Linked DNA regions of Homo sapiens: regions 1, 2, 3 and 4 are each linked to region 5. Evidence: promoter capture Hi-C in human tissues and cell types (Jung and others, 2019). All regions are on one chromosome and are shown on one strand. Each heading gives the region's core, a stretch centred on a gene start or on the middle of the fragment in contact. The rest is flanking DNA. Distances are from core to core; before and after follow the strand shown. Region 1 holds the start of EDF1 (endothelial differentiation related factor 1). Region 2 holds the start of TMEM203 (transmembrane protein 203). Region 3 holds the start of ANAPC2 (anaphase promoting complex subunit 2). Region 4 holds the start of LOC105376328 (a long non-coding RNA gene). Region 5 holds the start of ABCA2 (ATP binding cassette subfamily A member 2).

Region 1 (4,807 bases), core at 1-2,500, 160 kb before region 5:
ATTTGGTTTTGACTGTGCAACCAGTAAGGGTAGGGCAGACCAATGAATCCCTGTCACCAGAGCCCCAGCGCATCCTGGCCCAACTGGCCTCAAAGGCTTCAGCCCTAGGCCACCTGAGGGTACGAATGAGGCAGAGGCGGTGACTAAACTGTCCTCCCTATTACATCAGACTCACAACTGACCCTCGGATCCATCAGCCACATTGGTAATCTCCTTCCACAAGTACTGTTCAGGGCACGCCCATCTTCCACCTGTGCAACAGGGTCCACCTGCTCATGGGGTCCCCTGAAGCAGGCACTCTCTACAGCCTGTGATGCACCCAGGCAGGCTCCCTGGGCAGTATCTGACCAGCGGAGACCAGTAGAACCAAGCAGGTCCCAGGCAGAGAGAAAACTCTCAGGGAGGAGCCTACCCCCTGTCCCCAGCTCCCACTCAGGTCACTAACCTCTGCCCCGTCACCCAGTCTCCCGCCCCAGGCCCTCAACTGCTGTCCAATGGCCCCCAGCCCTATCCCAACCCCAATTCCCCACCTTCATCGCTGGTTCCTGCTGCTTGCCCCAGTCCCCACCCCTGTCCTAAGCCCTGTACCCCACTCTACCCTGTTCTTCCAAGCCCTGTCCCCATCTCCATCCCTGCCCCCGTTCCCAGTGCCCACCCTGGTTCTCTGTCCCCTATCCTCACACAAGGCCCCCAGCCTTGTCCCCGTCCCCGTCCCCACCTCCTGCCTCTGTCCTCACACCTGTCCCCACCAACAGTCCCTGCCCCTATCCCCTCCCCGCCCCACCCTGGCACTGGTCCCGGCCCTATCGCCTGCCCCTTGCCCCGTCCGGTTCCCTGCTCCTCTCCTCCTCCAGTCGCCCGCCCCCTGCCTCCTGGGTCCGTCCATCCCCTCCTGGGTCCGCCCCCCACCTTCCCACCCCTGTCCTGGCCCGGTCCTCCTACCCCTGCGATTCGCCCCGCCCTTCGAACCCCGTCCTGCCCCCGGCACCCCAGCCTTGTCCCCGTCCCCTGCGCCCTGTCCCAGGCCCCGCCTGCCCTTCCCCGAGCCCCCTGCCCCACGGTCCGTGGCCCCGGCCCAGCGTCCGCCCCGCCCGGCCCGGCCGCTCCTCAGTCAGCAAAGCACCTGCTTGGATTTGGCCTGGGCGGCCGTAGGGCCCTTCTTGCGCAGCACCGTCACCGTGTCCCAGTCGCTCTCGGCCATGGCGGGCGAAGACGAGCGTCCGTCCGGCGGCTCAGCGGCAGCTGCTAGAGACCTGGCGCGGCGACGCTACGTCCCCTCGGCACCTCCCCGCTTTCGGCGTCCCATTGGCTGGCTGCACGCGGGGGGCGGGCACTTCCCGTGCTCGGGGCCATTCGGCGTTCGGCTCGTCTGAGGGACGTCGTGGCCGGGCGCCGGCGACGTAGGGAAGGCGACGTCGGGGCCTGGCCTGGCCTGGCGAGGCGCGGTAGCCGCTGGGGCTGCAGGTCGGGAGGACCCCGGAGCCCGGGCCCCGCGGCCTCCGAGCACACGCGGGCGGCGGCTGCGCCCCGACGCGCAGCCCCCGTGCCTCCCCGGGCCCCGCACCCCGGCCGGGCCACGCGGGCGGAGGGGGCGCGGGGTCTCCGCTCTAGCCGTGCGGCCGCCCCCCTTTGTTTTGCCGCCTGCGCGGCTGGGACCTGCGCTCGAGGACCAGGGCCGTGGGGCCCGAAACGCAGCGTGGGGTGGGACACTTTTTTTTTTTTAACTTTTATTTTTTGAGATGGAGTCTTGCTCTATCGCCCAGGCTGGGTGCCGTGGCGCGATCTCGGCTCACTCCGTCTCCCGGGTTCATGCCATTCTCCTGCCTCAGCCTCCCGAGTACCTGGGACTACAGGCGCCAGCCACCACGCCCGGCTAATTTATTTATTTTATTTTATTTTATTTTTAGTAGAGACGGGCCAGGATGGTCTCGATCTCCTGATCTCGTGATCCGCAGGTGGGACTCTTTAAGAAAAAGAACGCAAGCCGGGCACGGTGGTTCACGCCTGTAGTCCCAGAACTTTGGGAGGCCGAGGCGGGCGTATCACCTGAGGTCGGGAGTTCGAGACCAGCCTGACCAACATGGAGAAACCCCGTCTCTACTAAAAATACAAAATTAGCCGGACGTGGTGGCGGGCACCTGTAATCTCAGCTACTCGGGGAGGCTGAGGCAGAAGAATCAGTTGAACCCGGGAGGCGGAGGTTGCGGTGAGCCGAGATCGCGCTATTGCACTCCAGCCTGGGCAACAAGAATGAAACTGCGTTTCAAAAAAAAAGAAAAAGAATGGAAAACTGTGAAAACATCGGTTGCAAAAATGAATGGTTTTGCATGATGTTTATTTTCTGTAATGTATAAAGTGTATATGTTATATGACAATAATTCTGTAATACCCTATTTTCCAGCCGTTTTGTATAATGAGAAAGGTCATTATACATTATCATTGAACAACTTTTTTAGGATTTTTATTTTTATAGACAGGGTCTCACTCTGTGGCCCACGCTGGAGCACAACATTGAGATCTCAGCTCACTGCAGCCTCGACGTCCTGCGCTCAAGCGATGGGACTATAGGCGCGGCCCCCACGCCTGGCTAATTTTTGTATTTTGTGGGGTAGAGATGGGGTCTCCGTGCCGCCCTGGCTCGTCGGTCTGGAACTCCTGAGCTCGCGTGATCCTCCCGCCTCGGCCTCCCAAAGCCTGGGATTACAGGCTTGAGCCACCGCAGGCCCTAATCATAGTATTGACTTCCGGGCTTTGAATAGATGCTCCACAAACAAGGAACCTGATAAATGCAGTCTCCATCCAAAAAGAAAACATACATAAATGCTGTATTAAATTGGAAATGCTGCATTAGCAAATGCACTCCGCGGAGGAGACAACTGTAATTCTAACCAGGCAGTGGGAAGTTGAGTCTTCTGCTTACCGTTTTTCACACCGGATGATTGGAAGAACCTTGGGGACACACTGATGGCTCCGTCCATACAAACCTTGCTTCTCTGTTTCCCGCCGACTTCCAGCACCAAGCTCCGTTCGGCTAAGGACTCAACAGCCTCAGCCGGCCAGCAAGGATGTGCTTCCACTGAATGAAAATAATCTCTTGTGGCCGGGCGCAGTGGCTCACTTCTGTAATCCCAGCACTTTGGAAGGCCGAGGCGGATGGATCACGAGGTTGAGAGATCGAGATCATCCTGGCCAACACGGTGAAACCCTGTCTCTATTAAAAATACAAAAATCAGCTGGGCATGGTGGTGCGTGCCTGTAGTCCCAGCTACTCAGGAGGCTGAGGCAGGAGAATTGCTTGAACCGGGAGGCGGAGGTTGCAGTGAGTCGACGACACCGCACCATTGCACTCCAGCCTAGGGACAGAGCAAGACTCTGCTGTCTCAGAAAAACAAAAAAAAGAAAGAAAGAAAAAGAAAATATCCCATAAACTCTGACTGGATGTATCTCCACTCAAGTCCCCCTTTGTTGTGTGCCAAAAATGCTTATCGTCACTCCAGTGCCACCAGCCCCCAGGAAGATTGTGATGAAGGTGGAGTTGGCCTGGAAAGAGGCAGCCTTGTTAACACTGCAGTTCAGGCCTCCTAACATGACAAACTTAACCAACACCTGATCTCATGAACGCATTGGGAGGCCCTTTTCAGAGCCTGGGAGACCCATGCAAGTGGGGCTCAGCTAGCTCCGTAGTGAGCCTGGGCTGAGAGAGAGGGGACAGCTACATCTAGCTGTCCTCTGCAGGTGTCCACCAAGACAGCCGTTGTCCCATCTGGCCCTCCATCGGGAGTCCAGGCCTGATGCCACAAGTCACTTGTGCCCTGTCCTTGGCACTCCCTGCACCAAGGCATGATGGATACAGGTGTCTGTGTGAGGCTGTCCTCACTGCCCACTCCGTCCCACTCCATCCCACTCCGTCCGTCCCACTCCGGGGTCGTTTGTTTGCACTCCCTCCTATTCCTGGATTCTTCCGACTTCGGGCCCAGAGGAAAGCAGCTGATACAAAGAAGCAGCTTTGGGGGGTCTGGTGAGCCTCTCGTATCTCACTGGAGATGTTGCACCAGTCTGTCTACCAGTTATCCATTTAGCTTCATGCATGGAGAAAAGACAATTCCAAAGACTTCTGGAGAAAAAAAGTCTCTTCATTTCCATCTGCAGATCTTAGTGTCTCTCTGGCATAATTTCCCTCCAGCCTTTCTTCGGTCCTTTTAGTACCATCTGCTGTAGTTTCATCTTTCATTTAACTGAAAATGTCTCTATTTTGCCCTTGTGTTTGAAGGATACACTATTGTATAAACGTCATCCCATTGTCTTCCAACTTCCATCCTTGCCAGTGAGAATCAGTGATCAGTCATTTGTGTCCTGGTTCCCCAGCAGGTTATGTGACAATGTGGCATGTCCTCTGGCTCTTTCAAGACTATCCCTGTCTTCAGTTTTCTTTTTCTTTTCTTTTTCTTTTTTTTTTCTTTTTTTTTTTTTTTTGAGACAGGGCCTCACTCTGTTGCCCAGGCTGGAGTGCAGTGGCACAATCATGGCTCACTGCAGCCTCAACCTCCTGGGCTCAAGTGATCCTCCCACCTCAGCCTCCCAAAATACTGGAATTACAGGCATGTTCCAACACCCCCAGCCTGATCTTCAGTTTTCTTAGCATGTGCCTAAGCATATTTTCCTTTGTATTTACCTTGCTTGGGTTCACTGAGCTGCTTTTTTATTTTATTTTTTTTTGAGATGGAATCTTGCTGTGTCACCCAGGCTGGAGTGCAGTGGCACGATCTTGGCTTGCTACAACCTCCACCTCCTGGGTTCATGCCCAGCT
Region 2 (4,953 bases), core at 1,625-4,124, 180 kb after region 5:
CCAGATAGGAAATTTTTTTTTTTTTTTTTTTTTGAGACAGAGTCTCGCTCTGTCGCCCACGCTGGAGTGCAGTGGTGCTATCTCGGCTGACTGCAATCTCTGCCTCCCAGGTTCAAGCAATTCTCCTGCCTCAGCCTCCTGAGTAGCTGGGATTACAGGCATGCGCCACCATGCCCAGCTAATTTTAGTATTTTTAGTAGAGACGGGGTTTCACCACGTTGGTCAGGCTGGTCTCAAACTCCTGACCTCGTGATCTGCCCGCCTCCGCCTCCCAAAGTGCTGGGATTACAAGCGTGAGCCACCGCATCTGGCCCCAGACAGGAAATATTTTAGCCCACTGGTTTTTGCCAGGGACAATTTTGTTCCCCAGGGCCCTTAGCAATGTCTGGATAAACATCTGCTTGTCACAAGTGAAGGCTGCTACTGGCATCTACCCAGGAGAGGCAGGAGCACTGCGAAACAGACTGCATCCTCACTAGAGAATCTTCTGGCCCCAAAGGCCAAGAGTGCCAATTAAGAGACCTTGGACTCTGAGGGTCATATCCACTCTCTGTCACAAGTTCTGCTTTTGTTTTTTTTTTTGTTTGTTTGTTTTTTTCTGAGACAGAGTCTCGCTCTGTTGGCCAGGCTGGAGTGCAGTGGCGTTGTCTCGGCTCACTGCAAGCTCCGCCTCCCGGGTTCACGCCATTCTCCTGCCTCAGCCTCCCAAGTAGCTGGGACTATAGGCACCCGCCACCACGCCCGGCTAATTTTTGTATTTTTAGTAGAGACAGGGTTTCACCGTGTTAGCCAGGATAGTTTCGATCTCCTGATCTTGTGATCCACCCACCTCGGCCTCCCAAAGTGCTGGGATTACAGGCGTGAGCCACCACGCCTGGCCTGCTTTTGCTTTTAATCATTTAGGGGTGTAAAAACCATCCTCAGCTCAAGGGTCATACAAAAACAGGCCTTAGGACATTGTTTGCTGATCCCTGCTCTACAGAGTGCCAACAAGGCCCACAAAGACCACACTCTGGCAAGAAGTCATGGGCTCTGGGGTCACAAACTATTCAATGGGTCTTTAACATGAGCCCAGATTGTTGTCTTCATACAGGGTGGGGGGGGGGGTGCCTGAGTTACCCACCTCCTAGAGCAGGAAGGAGGGATTCTCCAGAACAAGTGATTCCCACCACCACCATCCACTAAGCTCTAGCCACAGGTTTCAATCCATTTAAAACCGCAGCTCTGTAACCAGCTACACCACGTAGCAGAGAGTATCTCAATATTCATCCTATTTAACCCTTGAGGGTTACAGGCAACCACTATTCATTTCAGGAAAACATTCTCTTACTTTATTTGCATCTCAGCAAAGGTTCTCATGTGGCACCTGACTGGCATCAAACCAAAGTTCGTAGGCCAACAAAGATGGGCCACTCACAAGCTTCCCATTTGTAGATCTCAGTGCCTATGAGTATCTGACACCTGTTCCTCTCTTCAGTCTCTTAGGGAGGCTTAAATCTGTCTCAGGTGTGCTAAGAGTGCCAGCCCAAGGTGGTCAAAAGTCCACAAAACTGCAGTCTTTGCTGGGATAGTAAGCCAAGCAGTGCCTGGACAGCAGAGTTCTTTTCTTGGGCAACAGATAACCAGACAGGACTCTAATCGTGCTCTTATTCAACATTCTTCTGTCTCTGCCTAGACTGGAATAAAAAGCCAATCTCTCTCGTGGCACAGGGAAGGAGATACAAGCTCGTTTACATGTGATAGATCTAACAAAGGCATCTACCGAAGTCTGGTCTGGATAGACGGCACAGGGAGCTCTTAGGTCAGCGCTGCTGGTTGGAGGACATTCCTGAGTCCAGCTTTGCAGCCTTTGTGCAACAGTACTTTCCCAGGATCCACAGGAAATACTCAGAGTCCACCTGGACATTTTACTTATATTCAGTTTCCAAGTGTCAGAGGGGTTCAGGACTGTCTGGCCTGGGGGGCCTCCTCATGACCTCAATTCAGGATTATCTACTCAAAGCATTAAACAAAAGGAAATACATTTTCAGGATGAAGGCTGCTCTTTTAAGCCCTGCTGAAGAAACCATTTCAAACAGGATTGGAATAGGGAAACCCGGCACTCAGCTCGGCGCAAGCCGGCGGTGCCTTCAGACTAGAGAGCCTCTCCTCCGGTGCGCTGCAAGTAGGGCCTCGGCTCGAGGTCAACATTCTAGTTGTCCAGCGCTCCCTCTCCGGCACCTCGGTGAGGCTAGTTGACCCGACAGGCGCGGATCATGAGCAGCTGCAGGAGAATGAAGAGCGGGGACGTAATGAGGCCGAACCAGAGCTCCCGAGTCTGCTCCGCCAGCTTCTGGCACAACAGCATCTCGAAGACGAACTTGAGACTCAGGACCGTAAGTACCCAGAAAAGGCGGAGCACCGCCAGCCGCTTCTCTCCATCCTGGAAGAGGCGCACGGACACGATGGTGGTGAAGTAGGTGCTGAGCCCGTCAGCGGCGAAGAAAGGCACGAACACGTTCCACCAGGAGAGGCCCGGGACCAGGCCATCCACACGCAGTGCCAGCAGCACAGAGAACACCAACAGGGCCAGCAGGTGCACGAAGATCTCGAAGGTGGCGAAGCCTAGCCACTGCACCAGCTCCCGGAGCGAGAAGAGCATCGCGCCCGTTGAGCGCGGGCCGGGGCCCGGCCGAGCGTGCCACCCGCGGGGCTGCGTCTCCTCTCCCCGTGGCCCTCGCCCGCGCCTGCCGCCGCTGCTGCGAGCGAGAGGCAGCGAGCGGCCCCGCCAGCCCCAGCCCTCGGCCCTGATGCGCCGGCAATCCCCCGGCCCCGACCCGGGACTCAACCCTGGCCGCCCGTGAACGCCCGCCTCGATCGGACGCCATGCCCCCACAGGGCGCGTCCCTAGTGCGTCACTTCCGGTCGACGGCGGAAGGCGGAAGGCGGAGCGGTCCCTGCAACCCGGCCGGCGGGAACTGCCTTCTAGTTTTTAGTCTCAGACCAGACCACCGGGCGCACCCCGATGCCGAGCCCGCAGCTTCTGGTGCTCTTCGGCAGCCAGACAGGCACGGCTCAGGATGTGTCGGAGAGACTGGGTCGCGAGGCCCGGCGCCGGCGGCTTGGCTGCCGGGTGCAGGCCCTGGACTCCTACCCGGTGGTGAGGGCTCGCTAGGGCCTCGGCGTGGGGGACGAGCAGGCCTGGCGTGCCCGCCTCGCGGGGTCATCGACCCAAAAGGCGTCGCATTTTCTCTGAGAGCGGGTCTTTCCCTTATGGCGGATTTAGGGAAGGAGGTTTGGGAAGGGGAGTTCAGTTTAGCACCTGGAGGAGGTTGGAACCTGAAAGAGAAGACGGTCTGGCTGCTCACATAAATCCCTCTGCCCTGTCAGCCTGAGTAAAGGAGAAGGGGGTCAAGTTTTGGGAAGGACGCCCGGTCCTTACAGCCGGAGGTCTTACGTGTGTGTGTCTTTTTGTTGAGGTGAATCTGATTAACGAGCCCCTGGTGATATTTGTTTGTGCAACTACAGGCCAAGGAGACCCCCCTGACAACATGAAGGTAAGGCTGGCCTGATGTGGCTCCTCAGATCCCTGCCCTCGACCCTCACCCCGTTTTCATTGCCTGGCGTCTAGGTGCAGTAAATAGCTCTCCTTTATCTCATGCACCTTCAGAGGTGGATTTGAGAGAACGTCCGTGAGTGGGGCTGGGGGCTCCGGTTGCCCTCTCTAATAAACTCGTCGTAGCCACCAAATAGCCTTATTATCCGTTTTAACCTTTCTTATTTTTCCAGGGCTATCTATATGTGCATCTAGTCTGGGTCTTGTGTGTATTTCTAGACTGTATGACCCTCAGGGAACGTTGCTGAATTCTCTGACCATCTTTTAAGCACATATTCTATTCTTGGCACAGTCTGGTGCTGGGGATCCAGCTGTGAACCCAGCAGCCATATTTCCATCCTGGCAGAGTTCACACTGTAGCAGAAGCAGCTAACGGGCAATGACAGTGCCAGCAAACACCTGCTGCTGGGGAAAGTAGCATATGTCACAGGAGCACTGATAAGGGGCATCGAGCCTTATCTCACCCAACCTTGGGGCCCAGGCAGAGGTTTCTGGAAGAAAAGAGTGTAAGCTGAGTCACGGAAGGATGCGTGAGGGCTAGTCAGGCACCGAGGAAGAAGGAGCAGTCAGCGCAGAGGAAAAAGATGATTTGGTTTGTGTGAAAAGTGGAAAGCAGCTCAGGGTGGCCAAGCTGAGGAGTACACTGGGGCAAGAGGGGAGGAGAAGAGAGGCAGGAAGCCAGGCCCAGTCCAAAGAGCCTGAGTAACCACAGCAAGGCAGATGGGCTTGAAATGAAGGGTTGTCGGAACTGTAGGGGTGACACAGTCATGTTCCTAAGCTAGCAAAACCGCACTGGTCTGCAGGACAGCAGGAATAATGCCATGAGATGCACAGGACAGGCAGCAGATGCTACCGATCTGAGCTGAAGTGGTGGCAGAAGATAGAAGTGGACACATTGCAGTGGTGTCAGGAAGAGAGAGTCCCCGGGACATGGAACGGACCCAATAGGTCAAGCAGAATCGAGACAGGGATGTGGGCTCTGGAACCAAGATGGATGGTGGTTCCATCCACAGAAATCAGAGAACACGGTGGGAGTAGGGGGCTGTGCAGGAAGGGAACCTGGAGACATTGAAGTGGAGAAGTGCAGTAGGACTAGCGCTCCAAGGAAGATCCTGGGGCGGAGATAGGTGTTGAGGTAGCCACAATACAGAAGTGTGAGAAGAGGAAGCTCCTCTCTCCCCACAGGACAGGCTGCCCAGAACGTTAGAGCCCAGGAGGGCAGGAGAGTGACCAAGCAGCTAGAAGAGAGGGTGCAGCACCCCAAGGAGAGGACTGGGGGAGTGAGTGTTCCAGGAAGGGCTCTGGCATGTAAAGCTGCACAGAAGTCAAATCAGATAAAGCCTGAGAGGGATCCATGG
Region 3 (5,199 bases), core at 2,212-4,711, 160 kb after region 5:
ACGCTAGTGTGAGCTGCAGGGAGGCATGGTGAGCCCCGGGCTGACTCAGAGGCTGGGAGGAGCCTCACGGCCACCCACCCTGTCGGCCGGGACCGAGGGGAGCCCGAAGGCCACCTGCGTCTGGAGGCTGGAGCACATCAAAACCTGCAGGGTGGGTGATGGCCCAAAAGGCGACGTCCCGGCCCCCCTGCAGTCTTCGTGCCTCTCACACGCGCCAGTGCCCACACTTATCACTGGCAGCAGCAACCCTAGCGTGAGACATGACAGACACACACGACCTGTGCGCTGTGCCTGGTGGGCACACTTGCCCCCACTTAAATGGATAAACACGCCCTTGAGACCAGCCGGGGGGCCCAGGCGAGCACAAACCTCTAGGTGGCAATTCCGCCGCGGGGCCCAGGCGTGCTCATGCCCCACAGACCTGCTACCCAGTGGCAAGACCGCACGGATGTTCACCCTCTCCACCCTACTACCCACTCTTGCCCACCGCTTTGGGGACACCCTCCCTCTTTGAAAACCCAACATCACAGCCAATCTGCACCTCAGTAGGGGGACTCTGAAACACTGAGGAAAGGACAGGTGACACATGGGAACAGGATGGGGGGACCCACATGGCTGGGCCCAGCTCCCCTATGGCTCCGGGAGCCCAGAGCAGAGCCCCAGACCACACCCCAACAGCACAGGTGCCTGGAGGCCCCATGTGAGGGTGTCTCGCTCCCCGCTGTGGTGCAGGCTGGCTGTAGGTCAGTCCATTAGGGACCGGCCAAGCGAGTCCACACTCAAGTAGGGCAGCAAACAGGAGAAGGGGATCCATTCAGTGGCTCCTCTGGTGGGCCCAGCTTCGCCACACCTGCCTGAGGTAGCCCCCTCGGGATCCTGGCCCGATACCGCCTGCAGCCATGGGATTCTGCGCAGATCCGAAGAGCGCACCTCAGATGCGTCCTCGCTATCACCAGGGCCCAGAAGTACTGGTCTCTACCCCACATCAAGACAGCTCCAGCCACCACCCGGTCTGGGCCCACCCAGGCCTCCGTGCTCTGGATGCTTCTGAAGCCAGGTGTCAGGTTTGCCAGAAACCTACTCCCCTGTCTCCAGCGGGGCACAGCCCAAGGGAGGGGTCCTCACCTTGTGGAACTCACGCAGGAAGGAGCGCTCGTACTCGCCCCGGCAACGGTCCTCCATCCTCTCCCGGGTCACCTGGTGCAGGGTGGTGGTCACAGCCTCGGCACTGACCCGCTCCAGCAGACTGAGCCTGTGTCTAGAGGAGAGCCCTGGCCATGGGGCACCCAGAGCACACACCGGCCCCTCTAGCCCAGAACAGCCCCATGCCAGGACTGCCCTGCCTGTAGAGTGCATGCAGCACACACACACACACACACCCAGCACACACCTCCCCACAATCCTCAGCTGTGGGGGGCGGTTGTACCAAAGGCTTCAAGAAGCCACTGGGAGCACAGAGCACTCCCAGGCTCTGCTGTCCCCGCCCAGCTGGCCTCTATCCAGGTAGGGACACTGGCCTTCCCCATGTGATCAGTGGCAGCAGGTGTGGCTGTCGGGGGCCCTAGCCTTATCTCCTAGGATCAACTCTGAAACGACAACCAACTGCACTGCTACCCTGGCCGCAGAGGTACAGATGCCACTGTTTGTGCCTTTCAGTGCAGTCTCTGGTCTACAGTGACAAAAGGACTCAAGAGGAGGATGAGAAAAGTTGCCGTGTAACTTTTGCAGGGATGAGCCCAACAGAAGCCCTTCACGGTCTCCCTGACCCCTGCCAGCAAAAGGAGCACTCCTTTAGTCCACCTTTAGTCCACCTAAGACCTCTCAAGTAGCTGCATGGCTACACCCCCGTTCAATGTGACAAAACCACCACAAATGGCCAAGGGTATGACAATTGCTAGAGAACTACAACAGGACCTGTCTCTCACAACAAACCCCTCTCCTCTCCAAACTAACAAGAGACTGCTTGCCCTCACAGTGACCTGATCTTCCTGGAGAGAAGCAGCAGCAAGCTTCTGTTCACAATTACAGGGCAAGGAATGTCGACGAGGGTGAGAATCATTCCTCCCCAGGATCGACAAAAGGCACAGTGGAATTCTGCAGAGTCCAGGAAGTTTGGAGTTGCTAAGAAATTTGCTGCTGCAGACACAAGCCACATAGGGCCTTACCAGGGTCAAGGCATGAATCTGTGGGACTGAAGGTGAGTGACAGAAGAGAGACACCTGTGTCCAGGACACGCTGCACAGGAATCCCTGGGACTCTCTCTCTGTCATGTTCCTGGTTATCAGGACGGCTCACCAGCTTTCTGCTGAGGCCAGCTGGACCCAGGGGAGCAGCGGGGAACCAGAAGGAGCAAGGGCATGGCCATCGGGACAGACTACTCACAAGACCTGGCTGAGCTGATGGAACTGCTCCAGAGCCTGGCGACACCAGCACTGTTGCTTGTCACTGCTGCACCCTGCACACAGCGGGCTCTGCAGGAGCCGGTAGTACCGGCGACGGGCATACCGGCTGTCCAGCTCCCCTTCCAGTTCCGGGTCTGTGCCCCCTTCCCCCTTCCTCTTACTCTGCATATAGACTCTCAAGAAGCACCCATACAGACGCTGGATCATCTCTTGGAAGGTTCTGGGGGTGCTAAAGAACAAGACTCCGCGCAACATAGTGTGGACTTCTTCTCGCAGCCCCTGAGCACCAGTGCCCATCAGCAAGCCCAGGCGAGTCCATTTCTCCAGCAGCTCTAGGCTACGCAGGTAGGGATCCAGGCGGCTCTCCAGCAGGCCAAAAGCGTCAAGGAGTAGCAAAAGGCACTGGGGCTCATCCGCAGAGTTCTCGCATTGGGAGATGGCATTCCAGAACTCAGGGGAGATGTTGGCCTGCAGATCGTTCTGCAGCACCTCCACGAACCACTCCTCCAGGACCGAGTGTAGCCCGTGGCCCCTCAGAACCTCCACCGCCGCCCGGAGCTCCTCTTCCTTTGGCGGGACTGCACCGCTGGTCCGGGAAGACACCTGGGGTGCAGAAAACCGTGAGGCGAGGGGAACACAACATAGAGGTGGGGAGAGGCGGGGAAGGGAAGAAGCTGAGGGGGAGGCTGCAAAAACTCCGCTGCCCCCTGTCCGTGCTGCCCGGACGTTGGGCCGAAGCTATGGAAGGGCTGTCAGCGGAGCTGAACGAAACGAAACGGAAAGGTGGTGGAAAATGGCAGGACAGGACAGAGGCGGATGATGGACAGAGCCGTATGAACCCGAGGGTAGCGGCCCCAAAGCGCGTACGGTCCCGGAAACTCCGCGCGGGGCCGCCCCTCTCTTCCCAGGCCTCACCAGCCCCAGCGCAGCCGGCGGCACCAGGCCGGTGCTCACGGTGTTCCAGGCCACTAACAACTCCTGTCCGGGCCGGGAGTCGCTGTCCCCCTCCGCCACCACAACTGCCGCCGCCATCTGCACCCACCGACTCCGAGATTCGCTCGGCGCGGCGCGCGGCGATGACGCACGTCTGCACGCGCAGCCATGACGCGCACAAGGCGCTCAGCGATGACGCGCTAGTTCGGCGCGCCGTGGGGGAGTCGTGCGCAGGCGCGGACAGCGCTGCTTCCGCGGCGGTTGGGGTGGTGGGGCCCCGGGCGGCGTTGACCATGACCCAGCAGGGCGCGGCGCTGCAGAACTACAACAACGAGCTGGTCAAGTGTGAGCGGCGCAGCCGGGACGGGGAGGTCGGGAGGGCCGCAGGGCCGGGTTCCCGGCTCGCAGCGGGGTGCCCCTGGACCCGCCTCGCTGCGGGCATCGCGCGGCTGAGCAGAGCCCTCCGTGCCGGAGGCCGGGTGTCCGTGGCCCGAGCCCTCGCTGGCTCGCAGGCCCCGCGCCGGGCGCTCGGGGGTGGTGCCTGACTCTGGCTTCCTCGGGTGGAAGGAGGCCCGCCCTCCGCCGCCGCGCTCCTGCCCTGGGCCCACAGCGCCGCCCCTCCCGGCCCCCAGGCATAGAGGAGCTGTGCCAGAAGCGGGAGGAGCTGTGCCGGCAGATCCAGGAGGAGGAGGACGAGAAGCAGCGGCTGCAGAATGAGGTGAGGCAGCTGACAGAGAAGCTGGCCCGCGTCAACGAGAACCTGGCACGCAAGATTGCCTCTCGCAACGAGTTCGACCGGACCATCGCGGAGACGGAGGCCGCCTACCTCAAGGTGGAGCTCGGGAGGCCAGGCCGAGCATCAGGGGATAGGCACGGCAGGGGTGTTGCCACGGCAAGGCGTCAGGACCGGCTGGGGCTCCCGGCTGTGGGCAGTCTGTGCCTCGCTGGCATTTCGGGCAGGGGCAGCGTGGCCAGGCCCATTGAGGAACCCAGGCTGCTGTGGGAGTGACTGTGGGGCTGTCTGTGGGGCCTGGGGCATCCTGGGTCCTGGTCTTTATCCGGTTCTCGCTAGCCATGTGGTTATTTCTGCTCAGTGTGAAGAGCCAGGTCTTGGGCAGAGCACCCAGCACGGGCCAGTGCTAACCCAGCCTGGCTTTGAGGGTGGAGAGGAAGTGTTTTGGGTCAGATTCCGGAGGGAAGAGGGCCCTGCCACCCCGTCTGCCAGTCCCCTTGGGCTTCCGCCTTCCCCCACACAGGATCCCTTGGCTACAGCACCCCCAGCCAGGTCCCAGCACCTGAGTGTGAGGACAGCTGGGGCTTAGGACCTTACCAACAGGTGAACATTAACAACCTTCTCACTTCTCTGGCCCCAGATCCTGGAGAGCTCCCAGACTTTGCTCAGCGTTCTCAAGAGGGAAGCTGGGAACCTGACCAAGGCTACAGCCCCAGACCAGAAAAGTAGCGGCGGCAGGGACAGCTGACCAGACCACGGGCAGGGCCTGCCTCCGTGTGCCCCTCAGCTCAGCCCCAGCAAGTGTGTGCTCAGAGCATCTTTGTTCTTCACGGCAGCAGCTACCTTCCCTCACTGTCTCAGGTGCCGAGAGGGGCAGGTGCCAGCCTCCACTGGCATCAGTGACAAGCCCAGGGCACAGCCCACCCGGGGGTCCTCGCTTCATGCTCACACAGGCTATGGGGATGGTGGGCTCCAGGTCAGCTCTGCAAGGGGCTTGTCTCTGTGGCACCCACACTCCTGCCCTGCCAGGGAGGCTCTGGTTGTCTGAGCACCATGGGGGCCCCCTCACCTTGTCCCTCCTCAGCCAGCAGAGGCCCAGGGCAAGGGACAGGAGGACAGGGGTTCTCCTTC
Region 4 (4,376 bases), core at 1,410-3,909, 130 kb after region 5:
CTGGCACAGCACAGGAAGCAGAGAGAACAGGAGGGAGGAGAGGAAGCTGCCCCCATCCCACAGGGGGTCTCCAGTGCCCCTCTTGACCCAGCCCTACTTAAGTCTGGGGCAGTTAGTTGTCTGACAGGACCCTGCTGGGGAAGAGCAGATGGGGGACAGCAGGCAGACCTCAGCTTCAGCACTCGCTGTCCCCAGTCCTGGTCCTCCACACCCCTCATCCCTCCTCCAGCCTGCATTGCTCTTGATGGGACCGGGTCAAACTGTCCTCTTCCACCGTGTGGGACAGCCCTTCCTGACTCCCCTGGGCCTCTGAGAGCCTCTGCCCTCGCCGGCTTCCTCCTCCAGAACATCTTTCCCTTGGCTCCCTACTCCAGGGTGCTCTCCTGGCCATTCCTCCCCGGGCAGAGCCACACTACCCCCACTCCACACACACTCCAGTCCTGGTAGCATCACAGACCACCAAAGGCAAGGACCTCACAGGCGACACGCCCACCAACCTTCTCTCGGTCATTCCAAGCCCTCAAATGTCTCTTGACCCTGTCTGTTTTCTGAGCCCACCCCTGAAGCTTGGTGTCAGCCCCTGTGACCTCTCACCCAGGCTCCCTCCCCTGCTCTGCACCGGCCCCTGTGGCCTCTCACCCAAGCTCCCTTCCCTGCTCTGCAGACAGGGTGGGGTTTTCCAGTGCCAGTGTGGGTTTCATTGCAGCCCAGACACCTCACACTGAAAAGTCTGAAAGCAGCGGTCAAACGCTAATGGCCAAAAGGCCCCATCTAGGCTGTGAGATGGAGATGGCTTTTTACAAATTTGTTTCTGGCCTCACTAATTTTTTAAAAATACTAGCATATATATTACCTGTATAACAGGAAAATGTAATGAAAGTTTTATAAAGCAAATCAACTTCTTCAATGGCTCCTGATTCCCCTGGGGATAAAAGACAAAATGCTGCCTGGAGGCTGAGGGTGGGCGGGCCTGCCCCCCTCTCAGGCTCACCCTGCCTAGGACATGCCGGGAGGGTGCCTCTCCCACCACCCCCACGCCTCCCTGCCTTTGCAGTTCTGGACTGCAGACTCCTCTGCTCCACCTGCCCTCAGGCACCTGCTTGATCCCTGCCCACCTTGAGGGCTCAGCTCTGACACCATCTCCCCTCACAGTTCTGGCAGTGTGCTATGCTCTATTCCAGCCCCCTGTGCCCCAGATCCCTTCCCCACCCCCATGCCATGGTCCCTTGAAGGACAGACAGGAGGGCGAGCCCAAGCAGGAGTGTGGGTCGAAGAGGCCACGGCGCGGTGGAGCACGTACACACGGGCAAGAGAAAGGAGCCAGAGACCTACATTCAAAGCCTGAGGGCTTCGGGACTGGGGGCCGGGACAGGCAGTGCGCCGGGATGAAGGGAGGCACGGGTGGGTGGCCCCACGGGTCCCAGGTCCTGTGCAGGTGCAGGGTCGGCTTTGTGGACATGCCCCTGTCCTCGTGGCACAGCAGGGTGGGGGTCAGCCTGCAGGCTGGGCTGTTTCTCACCCCAGGAAGATGCCTGGCATACACGGGACATCAGCGGCTCCTCTGCTGGAGGGAATCATGTCTTTTTTTTTTTGAGACAGAGTCTCGCTCTGTCGCCCAGGCTGGAGTGCAGTGGCGCGGTCTCCGCTCACTGCAAGCTCCGCCTCCCGGGTTCACGCCATTCTCCTGCCTCAGCCTCCTGAGTAGCTGGGACTACAGGTGCCCACCACCACGCCCGGCTAATTTTTTTGTATTTTCAGTAGAGACGGGGTTTCACCGTGTTAGCCAGGATGGTCTCGATCTCCTGACCTCGTGATCCGGCCGCCTCGGCCTCCCAAAGTGCTGGGATTACAGGCGTGAGCCACAGCACCTGGCGGGGAATCATGTCTAAGCCAAGACTGGAGAAAAAGTGGCCAAGAGAAGGGTCCAGCTCTCCAGGAGTCTTTTCTGAGCCCCCAGCCCCCACCCCCCCGGGGCTGCAGGCAGACGATGCTGACGGTGGCTGGGGAGGACGTGTCCTGAACACTTGGGCTCGTGAAGAAGCTCCAGAGAGGGGCAGTGGCCGGCGGCGCAGGGCGGGGGGTGTGAGGGGTGCGTCGGGGATTAAGAGGGGCGCCAGGGGAGGCTGGGAGCTGAGAAGAGACTGCCGCCCTGGGCAGCCTTAGGTCGGTGGTCCAGGCTGGGTCTCCCCTTCCCCCCCAGATTGTGACGATCCACCAGGAGCCCTTCGTGTACGTCAAGCCCACGCTGAGTGATGGGACATGCAAGGAGGAGTTCACAGTCAACGGCGACCCAGTCAAGAAGGTGATCTGCACCGGGCCCAACGACACGTCGCCGGGCAGCCGTGAGTGCGCGGGGCAGGGCGCGGGGCGCGGGGCAGGGCGCGGGGCGTGGGGCGGTCTGGAGCCCAGCAGTTACCGCCCGCACCTACCCAGCCCGCCACACGGTGCCTCAGTGTTGCTACGGCTTTTGCATCGACCTGCTCATCAAGCTGGCACGGACCATGAACTTCACCTACGAGGTGCACCTGGTGGCAGATGGCAAGTTCGGCACACAGGAGCGGGTAGGCTGGACGGCGGGGGTGGGGACCAGCGTGAGAGGGGCCTGCAGGCGCGGTCGGAGTGGGTGGGGCATGGAGTAGGCGGGGCTTGCAGATGGTGGGGGGTCCTGGGGTGAGTGGGGCATGGAGTGAGCGGAGCCTGCGGGCTGGGTCCTGGCGTGGGTAAAGCATGGGGTGGGCGGGGCCTGAGGGCTGGGTGGGGCCTGACATGGGAGGGGCCTGACGTGGGGGTCGGAGTGGGTGGGGCACGGAGTGGGCAGGGCCTGCAGGCGGGGGTCTGGAGTGGGCGGGACGTGGAGTGGGCGGGGCCTGCTGGCTGTGGTGGGGCCCGCCCGGCGTGGGAGGGGTCTGCGAGCCAGGGCGGGGCTGGAGTGGGGTGGGGCCTGCGAGCTGGGTAGGGTCTTGGGGAGAAGACCCCCGGAGTGCTCTAGGGCGGCTTCAGTCGGGGGTACCTGTGGCGGGAGCTGGGAGGACGCTGCCTGCATGCCCGCCGGCTCTGTCGCCTCGCAGGTGAACAACAGCAACAAGAAGGAGTGGAATGGGATGATGGGCGAGCTGCTCAGCGGGCAGGCAGACATGATCGTGGCGCCGCTAACCATAAACAACGAGCGCGCGCAGTACATCGAGTTTTCCAAGCCCTTCAAGTACCAGGGCCTGACTATTCTGGTCAAGAAGGTGGGCAGGGGCCGGGTGGCGGGGTGGCGGCGGGGGGAGTCCCTGGAGGGCCCGGGCCGCGCTGACCTCGCGTCCCTCCGCAGGAGATTCCCCGGAGCACGCTGGACTCGTTCATGCAGCCGTTCCAGAGCACACTGTGGCTGCTGGTGGGGCTGTCGGTGCACGTGGTGGCCGTGATGCTGTACCTGCTGGACCGCTTCAGGTGAGCGCGACCCGGGGCTCAGACACCTCCATCTGCGGGGCGCGGAGCCGGCCAGGGGCGGGGCAGGGCCGCCTCTCCCGCCCTCTCTCCCGCCCGCCCTCTGCGCCCCGCAGCCCCTTCGGCCGGTTCAAGGTGAACAGCGAGGAGGAGGAGGAGGACGCACTGACCCTGTCCTCGGCCATGTGGTTCTCCTGGGGCGTCCTGCTCAACTCCGGCATCGGGGAAGGTAAGGCCCCGCCCGGCCCGCCTGGTCCCGCCTCGGCCCTCTAGGGTCTGACAGAGCCCCCCGCCCGCCCACAGGCGCCCCCAGAAGCTTCTCAGCGCGCATCCTGGGCATGGTGTGGGCCGGCTTTGCCATGATCATCGTGGCCTCCTACACCGCCAACCTGGCGGCCTTCCTGGTGCTGGACCGGCCGGAGGAGCGCATCACGGGCATCAACGACCCTCGGGTGAGGCCTGGCCGGGCTGGGGGAGGGAATGCGAGGTGAGCTGGGGTCGGCCTCGGTTAGGGGCCTGGGGAGCCGCCGCCGCGATCCCTGCCCTCCGACCCTGCAGCTGAGGAACCCCTCGGACAAGTTTATCTACGCCACGGTGAAGCAGAGCTCCGTGGATATCTACTTCCGGCGCCAGGTGGAGCTGAGCACCATGTACCGGCATATGGAGAAGCACAACTACGAGAGTGCGGCGGAGGCCATCCAGGCCGTGAGAGACAAGTGAGGCGCGGGCGGCCACCCTGGCGGGGCGGGACAGGTGCGGGGAGGGGGAGGGTGGCCTCCACCGGGCAGGAGAGCGTCCGGGCCGGGCACCCCGGAGGGCGCGGGCGTGGGGCTTCCAGGCTGGCAGGACCAAGGCCCCCGTGACTCCGCCTCTGCCGGCAGCAAGCTGCATGCCTTCATCTGGGACTCGGCGGTGCTGGAGTTCGAGGCCTCGCAGAAGTGCGA
Region 5 (5,278 bases), core at 1,037-3,536:
CGTCCCTCGAGACCAGCCCAGTGCCTTCACATCGCCTGGAGGCCTAGATGCCTTCTCTGGGCATGACCCCTCCCTGTAGCTCCCGCCTACTGTGTCGGGGGGAGAACAGGTGAGACCCGAGGGTGGCGCTGCCATCTGCCATCCCAGTGACTTCATGACAGTGACCCTGTCCCTGCACCAAGAGCAGCCTGTAGCCCAAGGGTAGACCCAAGTCCAGCTAACTAAGAGGAGATAGGCCACACTCACAGACAGGGAAACTGAGGCAAAGAGCTTGGAGGAGCCTGCTAGCAGCACAGAGGTCCTTGGCACCCACCCTCCAGACCCTGAGCTCTGCCCAGGGTGGAGCTCTGCCCAGGGTGCACCCCTGCCCCAGCAGGGCGCATGGCACACAGGGCAAACCTCTGTCATCCAAGCTTGGCCCCAAGAGTCCAGCTCTGATGTCCAAGATCCTTCCCAGGAAAGTGGGGACCCAGCAGGAGTGTGCCCAGTGTCCAGCCAGCCCCAGCCCCACATCACAAGCCTGGCAAGGACTCAGCCTCCCTGGGGGAAACAGTTCCCCACCTGCTCCAGCCATGGGCTAAGGACCTCCACTGTGGCCCAGTGGGCCTCTGGGAGCCCTGTAGGGTGGGGACCCAAAAAGGTCCTGGGGGGCAGCCCAAACCAGCAGCTGGGAGTCACTCTTGCGGTCAGGACAGTGCACACCTCCCACCTGCTTGCCAGCTGCCCTCATAGGCCACACTCCCTTCCCTGAGCATTGTCCCCACTGGAACAGGGGCCACCATTCCAGCCTCTGCTCCCAAGCCCAGTGGGGACCTTCCTGACAACCACCCCCGGGGACTAATACTAATGCATGCCACATGCCACATCCCTGTTCCCTTGGCCCTGCTCTGCTGTCCCCAGTGACTCAATGCCAGGGGCTGCAGGCCTGATCCATGGGACCCCACTCAGCCAGCTCCAGGTGCCTGGCCAGGGCATGTACCTAACCCAGGCTCCCCGCCAAGGCCAGGTGCCCAGGGGAATTCTGCCAGCCATGGTGATGATGGCCACCCCAGCTGACTGCAGCCTGGGTTTCCTGCAGTGCATGTTGAAAGATAAACAGGCACGGACTGGTGCAGCCCAAGGGGTCCCGCCCGGGCCCTGGCTGGGCAAGAGGATGTCTGCCTTAGGCCCCCACCTGCTCTGAGCCCTGGCCTGGACAATCCCAAGGGCCTTCAGAAACCTAAGCTGGTCCAGGCCTGTGGCCTGGGAGGTGTCCCTTCCCTTCCCAGGCTGGAGCCAAGCTGGCCAGCTGGGGGTATGGCAGGACACCCATATCCCCAAGCCCCTCGCTCCACGAAGGACTTCTGTCCCTGACAGCCATGTGTCCTGCACCCTCAGGTCCACTGGCTGCCCAGGCAGTGCTGGGAAAGCCGGGGTTCACAGCTCCAAACAGTAGACCCAGCCCCCAGAGCAGGTGGGGGGACCAGGAGGCAACAGAGTGGATCAGGCTCGGGGAGAACTGACCCCAAAGGACAAATGGGTGCAGAGATTCAGGCTGGCCAAGGCTGGCACAAGGACATTCCCAGTGGCGAGAGCATGAGCAAGGGTCACGGATGTGCCAGGAGGGGAGGCGGAGAGATGCCTGGGACCAACCTCTATGGCAGGCCGCGGCCCAAGGGCAGGGGAGGGGTGGACGGAGGGAAGGGACAGGGTCTCCTCCGGGACCCCAGGGAGGCTGGGCCCAAGGACCATGGAGCCTCGCAGCTGAATGGAGCCCCCCAGGCCTGCCTTCTGTCCTGGGAACCAGGGCCTCCCTCGAGCCAGAGTCCTGAGCGCCGCTTGCCCCCCGCCCACAGCGGCCCCAGCGAGCGCGCTGCAGAGGGCGCGGGTGCCGTGACTCAGCCGAGCACCGCGATGTCAGCGGACGCGGGACCGGACTGGACACGACCGAGCCACCTCCCCGGAGGCCGCAGCGCCGGCAGGCGAGGGCAGGGCCCGGCGGGGAGGGGGCTCGGGCCCGCGCCGCCCCCAGCGCCCGCCGGGGTCTGCGCGCGCCCGGCCGTCCGCACGTGCGCGCGGGGAGCGCGCCTCTGGCCGCGGTGCGCGCGGCCTCGGGCTGAGGGCGGGCGCGTGGGGTGGGCTCACCGGGCTCCGGCGTTTGAGCGTCACGTTCTTCCAGAGCAGCAGCTGCAGCTGGTGCAGGAAGCCCATGGCGGGGCCACGCTCCGCCGCCTCAGCGCCGCGGCCCGCTCCTCTGCGCGCCCCGCCGGGCCCCGCAGCCCGCCGCGCCGCTGGGCATCGCCCGCGCGGGGGCGGGGCGCTCGGGCGTCCGGGACCCGATCCGCGCTGGCTCCGCCCCGGCGGCCGCGGCGACAGCGACTCTGCCCGCGCCCCGCCCGCCCCCGCTTAAAGGCGCCGCGCTCCGTCCGCGCCCGCCAGGAGGCGCCCGCCGCCCGCGCCGCGCCCGGGACCGACCCGGGCCCGAGACCCTGCGCGCGCCGCCGCCGGGAAGCCTCCGGGCCGCCCCTCGCCGGGCGTCACGCGACGCGCCCACATCGAATCCGAGACCCCGGCTTAGCCTTCGTAGGCCGGGGGACCCTCGGGCGCTGCGCTCTTCTCCCAGAGGCATCCGGCTGCGCCCACCGCGCTGGCGACTCTGCAGAGGCGCCCCAAGCCTTCACTGTCCCCGGGGCGCGCCGAGCGGACGCTGGCGAGGGGCCAGCTCACCCCCGTAAGGGTCTCCTGTGTGCTTTGTAAACCAGCACTTGGAGTCCAGGTGGTGCCCACCTGGAAGGGAGGCAGGGCGGCCAGGTGGGTCCGTCCCGCGATTCCGAGCAGCCAGCGGAAGGGGGGAAACTCGAGGCCCCAGGAACGCTCGCCGTGAGCGGAGCAGGCAGGGGACCGAGGCGGCCCCTGCTGCACGCGGCTCGTTTTTCTCCCCATATTCGGGCGAGTCTGGTCTCTGCACAGGGAGTTCGGGATCAGGCGGTTCTGCGGCTGTGGCTTGGCACCTGCTGGGGCGCCCCGGGAGGTGGGGCAGTTCCTCCGCGTGGCCTGTAGAGAGCGACAGAGGACAGGCTGACCCCATGGGTGGCTCTGACGGCGCTTCCCAGACTCAGTTTCCCCCCTGTGAATGGGGTGGAGTAGCGCTGTGTGGTGTCCAGTGTCAGGGCGCACATAGAAGGCGCATCCTCAAGTGAATGAAGACCTCCGAGGCCACAGCTCCCCACTCCTCCCAGCTCCTTTGCAGCAGGAAGGTGACCCTGGGCTAGTGAGTGAGGGATCAGCTTCCCACCCCAGCCCGCAGCCTCAAGGCACTTGCTTTTCTCTGCTCAGTCCACAGGGCTGGGTCAGGGCAGGAAGCTACCAGCAGGTCTTTCCCACAAGCCACAGCCATGGGTGAGGGGGGCTTCCTGCCCTCAACCTGCCCACCCCTACCTGGGGTAGGGACAAGCCCTGTGCCCCAGCCCCGGGGGCTTAGCCTGTTGGGGCCCTGGTCAGCACCACCCGTGGGTTGGCCTCTCTCCTCCTCGCCCCACTCTCCACCGTCCACTACAGGGGCTCCCTGGCTGCAGCCGCATCCCCAGTGCCTCCCCAGCACTGGCCACCAGAGGGAGCTACAAGGCACAGGTCAGACCCTGTCACCCCAGACACCCTCCAGCCTGCGGGCCTGGGAGATGGGCGATTTCAGCCTGGCCAGGCCTCTGACGTCCGTTCCCTACTCTTCCCCAACCTTGGCCTGTTTTGGTTTTTGTTTTGAGACAGGGTCTCATTCTGTTGCCCAGGCTGGAGTGCTGTGGTGTGATCACGGCTCACTGAAGCTTCAACCTCCTGGGCTCAAGCCATCCTCTCACCTCAGTATCCCAAGTAGCTGAGACCACAAGCGTGAGCCACCACGCCCTGCTAATTCTTGTATTTTTGGTAGAGATGAGATTTCACTACACTGCCCAGGCTGGTCTCGAACTCCTGGGCTCATCGCCTTGGCCTTTTGGGGGACACAGAAGGCTCTCTGATAAGGGGCCGTCTGGCGGAGGCTGTAGGAACTGGGGTAGCCAGTGGGCAGCCCGGCACAGGGAGGGCTCTCAGGCGGAGGGTGAGCAAAGGCCCAGAAGTCAGGCGACAGGACCCCCCGTGGGGAACAAGCAGCCCCATGGCCGTGGGGGCGACATGTCAGGGGAGGGCAGATGCAGGCTCTGTGGCCCTGCACGGAGGTGACCCATGAGACACTGGCCAGACCCACGAGGCACTGCTCAGATGTTTATTGTCCACCGCCCTCCCTCCCTGAGCCCAGAACAAGCTGGTTTGCTCCCCGTGGTCTCCTGGGCCCCGCCCCAGCCTACACACAGGGACCTCAGAACTATGGACGTGGCAGGGACCCGTGCCTGTGTCTCGGGGACCACAGGGCCTCTGCTACCGAGGAAGCTCGGGGTCCCAGGTTTGGCCCCCACAAACTTCAGGCTGGGGTGCCCCCCAGCCCCAAGGGCCCTGCCTTTCACCCTCTTCCAGCCAGGCCTTCACCCACCCAAGATTTGTTCAGGGTGGGGAGGGTCCTCGGCAGCCTTTCCCCTCCCGTCTGCCGCAGCAGGCACCCGTTACCTCCCTCCCACTCTCACCTCCTCTGCATGCTCCAGTGCCCACCTGCACCCCCCACCCCTGCTTCCTGACCTCTGTGCCCAGCCTCCCGTTAGCCCGCTGCTTGCCGGTAAGGGCCGGATGCCTGGTGGTTTGATTTCGACACCCAGCCCTTCCACCCACACCCACCTCCCCCGGCCAGCGGATCTCAGGCCTGAAACCAACCCTCAAGGTCCTCATAGACTTGGCTGCGGGGTAGGTGTGGGTAGCGGTCACAGATGGCACAGAAACGTTCCCGCCAGTCGGTGAACAGTCGCACGCGGAGCCTGTCACGCCAGGCAAAGAAGCGTTGGTATCGGCTCTCATTCATGCCAGTGAGGAAAGCCGCCAGCTCTCGGGCTGAGCCAAAGTCATCCACATGCACGAAGGCGTCAGCCGGCACGAAGGCCTCATAGGTGGCCCGTGGGGGCCCCAGCACCACTGGCACAGTGCCAGCCACCAGTGCGTTGCGCCAGAATTTCTCCGTAATGTAGTCGCGGTGCTGAGAGTTCTCAAAGGACAGGTAGAAGCGGTACTGGGCCACGGTGGGCACCAGGCAGCTGGCGCACAGTGGCCGTCCATTGGCACGGCCAAAGACATCCACCCGCAGATGAGGCGCCAGCTGCCGGTACAGCCTGGCACGCAGCTGCCGCTCCTGGAAGTTGCTGACCACCCAGGCGGCCACCCT

Evidence for each region. The method cuts DNA at HindIII sites, captures the fragments that hold promoters and counts their contacts. A contact is called where the count stands out against the background at its distance.
Region 1: the fragment with the promoter of EDF1 here is called in contact with the fragment with the promoter of ABCA2 in region 5 in 2 of the 25 tissues and cell types used here (small bowel and spleen).
Region 2: the fragment with the promoter of TMEM203 here is called in contact with the fragment with the promoter of ABCA2 in region 5 in 5 of the 25 tissues and cell types used here (adrenal gland, dorsolateral prefrontal cortex, hippocampus and 2 more).
Region 3: a contact is called between the fragment with the promoter of ANAPC2 here and the fragment with the promoter of ABCA2 in region 5, in 5 of the 25 tissues and cell types used here (dorsolateral prefrontal cortex, heart right ventricle, lymphoblastoid cells and 2 more).
Region 4: a fragment that was not itself captured here is called in contact with the fragment with the promoter of ABCA2 in region 5 in 1 of the 25 tissues and cell types used here (H1 embryonic stem cells).

What each region holds. Positions count from the first base shown.
Region 1 is chr9:136,865,058-136,869,864 of GRCh38, forward strand. EDF1 (endothelial differentiation related factor 1) reads right to left here and starts at 1,251. Exons shown (of 5, transcript NM_003792.4): 1 at 1,124-1,251. The coding sequence starts at 1,201. RefSeq lists silencers at 953-1,142, 1,243-1,552. The HindIII fragment of the contact is 12,750 bases long and covers 1-4,807 here.
Region 2 is chr9:137,202,774-137,207,726 of GRCh38, forward strand. It overlaps TMEM203 (transmembrane protein 203), which reads right to left and starts at 2,875. Exons shown (of 1, transcript NM_053045.2): 1 at 1,309-2,875. The coding sequence starts at 2,641. The coding sequence ends at 2,231. It overlaps NDOR1 (NADPH dependent diflavin oxidoreductase 1), which reads left to right and starts at 2,927. Exons shown (of 14, transcript NM_014434.4): 1 at 2,927-3,139; 2 at 3,459-3,536. The coding sequence starts at 3,005. RefSeq lists a silencer at 2,631-2,890. The HindIII fragment of the contact is 14,043 bases long and covers 1-4,953 here.
Region 3 is chr9:137,185,099-137,190,297 of GRCh38, forward strand. ANAPC2 (anaphase promoting complex subunit 2) reads right to left here and starts at 3,462. Exons shown (of 13, transcript NM_013366.4): 1 at 3,318-3,462; 2 at 2,383-3,005; 3 at 1,126-1,258. The coding sequence starts at 3,434. It overlaps SSNA1 (SS nuclear autoantigen 1), which reads left to right and starts at 3,578. Exons shown (of 3, transcript NM_003731.3): 1 at 3,578-3,680; 2 at 3,968-4,167; 3 at 4,709-5,199. The coding sequence starts at 3,629. The coding sequence ends at 4,816. RefSeq lists an enhancer at 3,370-3,589 and a silencer at 3,620-3,969. The HindIII fragment of the contact is 18,290 bases long and covers 1-5,199 here.
Region 4 is chr9:137,158,856-137,163,231 of GRCh38, forward strand. GRIN1 (glutamate ionotropic receptor NMDA type subunit 1) reads left to right here. Exons shown (of 20, transcript NM_007327.4): 9 at 2,201-2,342; 10 at 2,434-2,561; 11 at 3,069-3,233; 12 at 3,317-3,435; 13 at 3,549-3,661; 14 at 3,736-3,884; 15 at 3,991-4,148; 16 at 4,314-4,376. LOC105376328 (a long non-coding RNA gene) reads right to left here and starts at 2,205. Exons shown (of 3, transcript XR_007061878.1): 1 at 1,329-2,205; 2 at 854-922; 3 at 1-134. RefSeq lists an enhancer at 3,932-4,376. The HindIII fragment of the contact is 6,049 bases long and covers 1-4,376 here.
Region 5 is chr9:137,025,951-137,031,228 of GRCh38, forward strand. It overlaps ABCA2 (ATP binding cassette subfamily A member 2), which reads right to left and starts at 2,287. Exons shown (of 49, transcript NM_001606.5): 1 at 2,125-2,287. The coding sequence starts at 2,190. LINC02908 (long intergenic non-protein coding RNA 2908) reads left to right here and starts at 1,514. Exons shown (of 3, transcript NR_171031.1): 1 at 1,514-1,961. It overlaps FUT7 (fucosyltransferase 7), which reads right to left. Exons shown (of 2, transcript NM_004479.4): 2 at 4,224-5,278. The coding sequence ends at 4,760. RefSeq lists a silencer at 2,365-2,544 and an enhancer at 2,428-3,172. The HindIII fragment of the contact is 11,656 bases long and covers 2,107-5,278 here.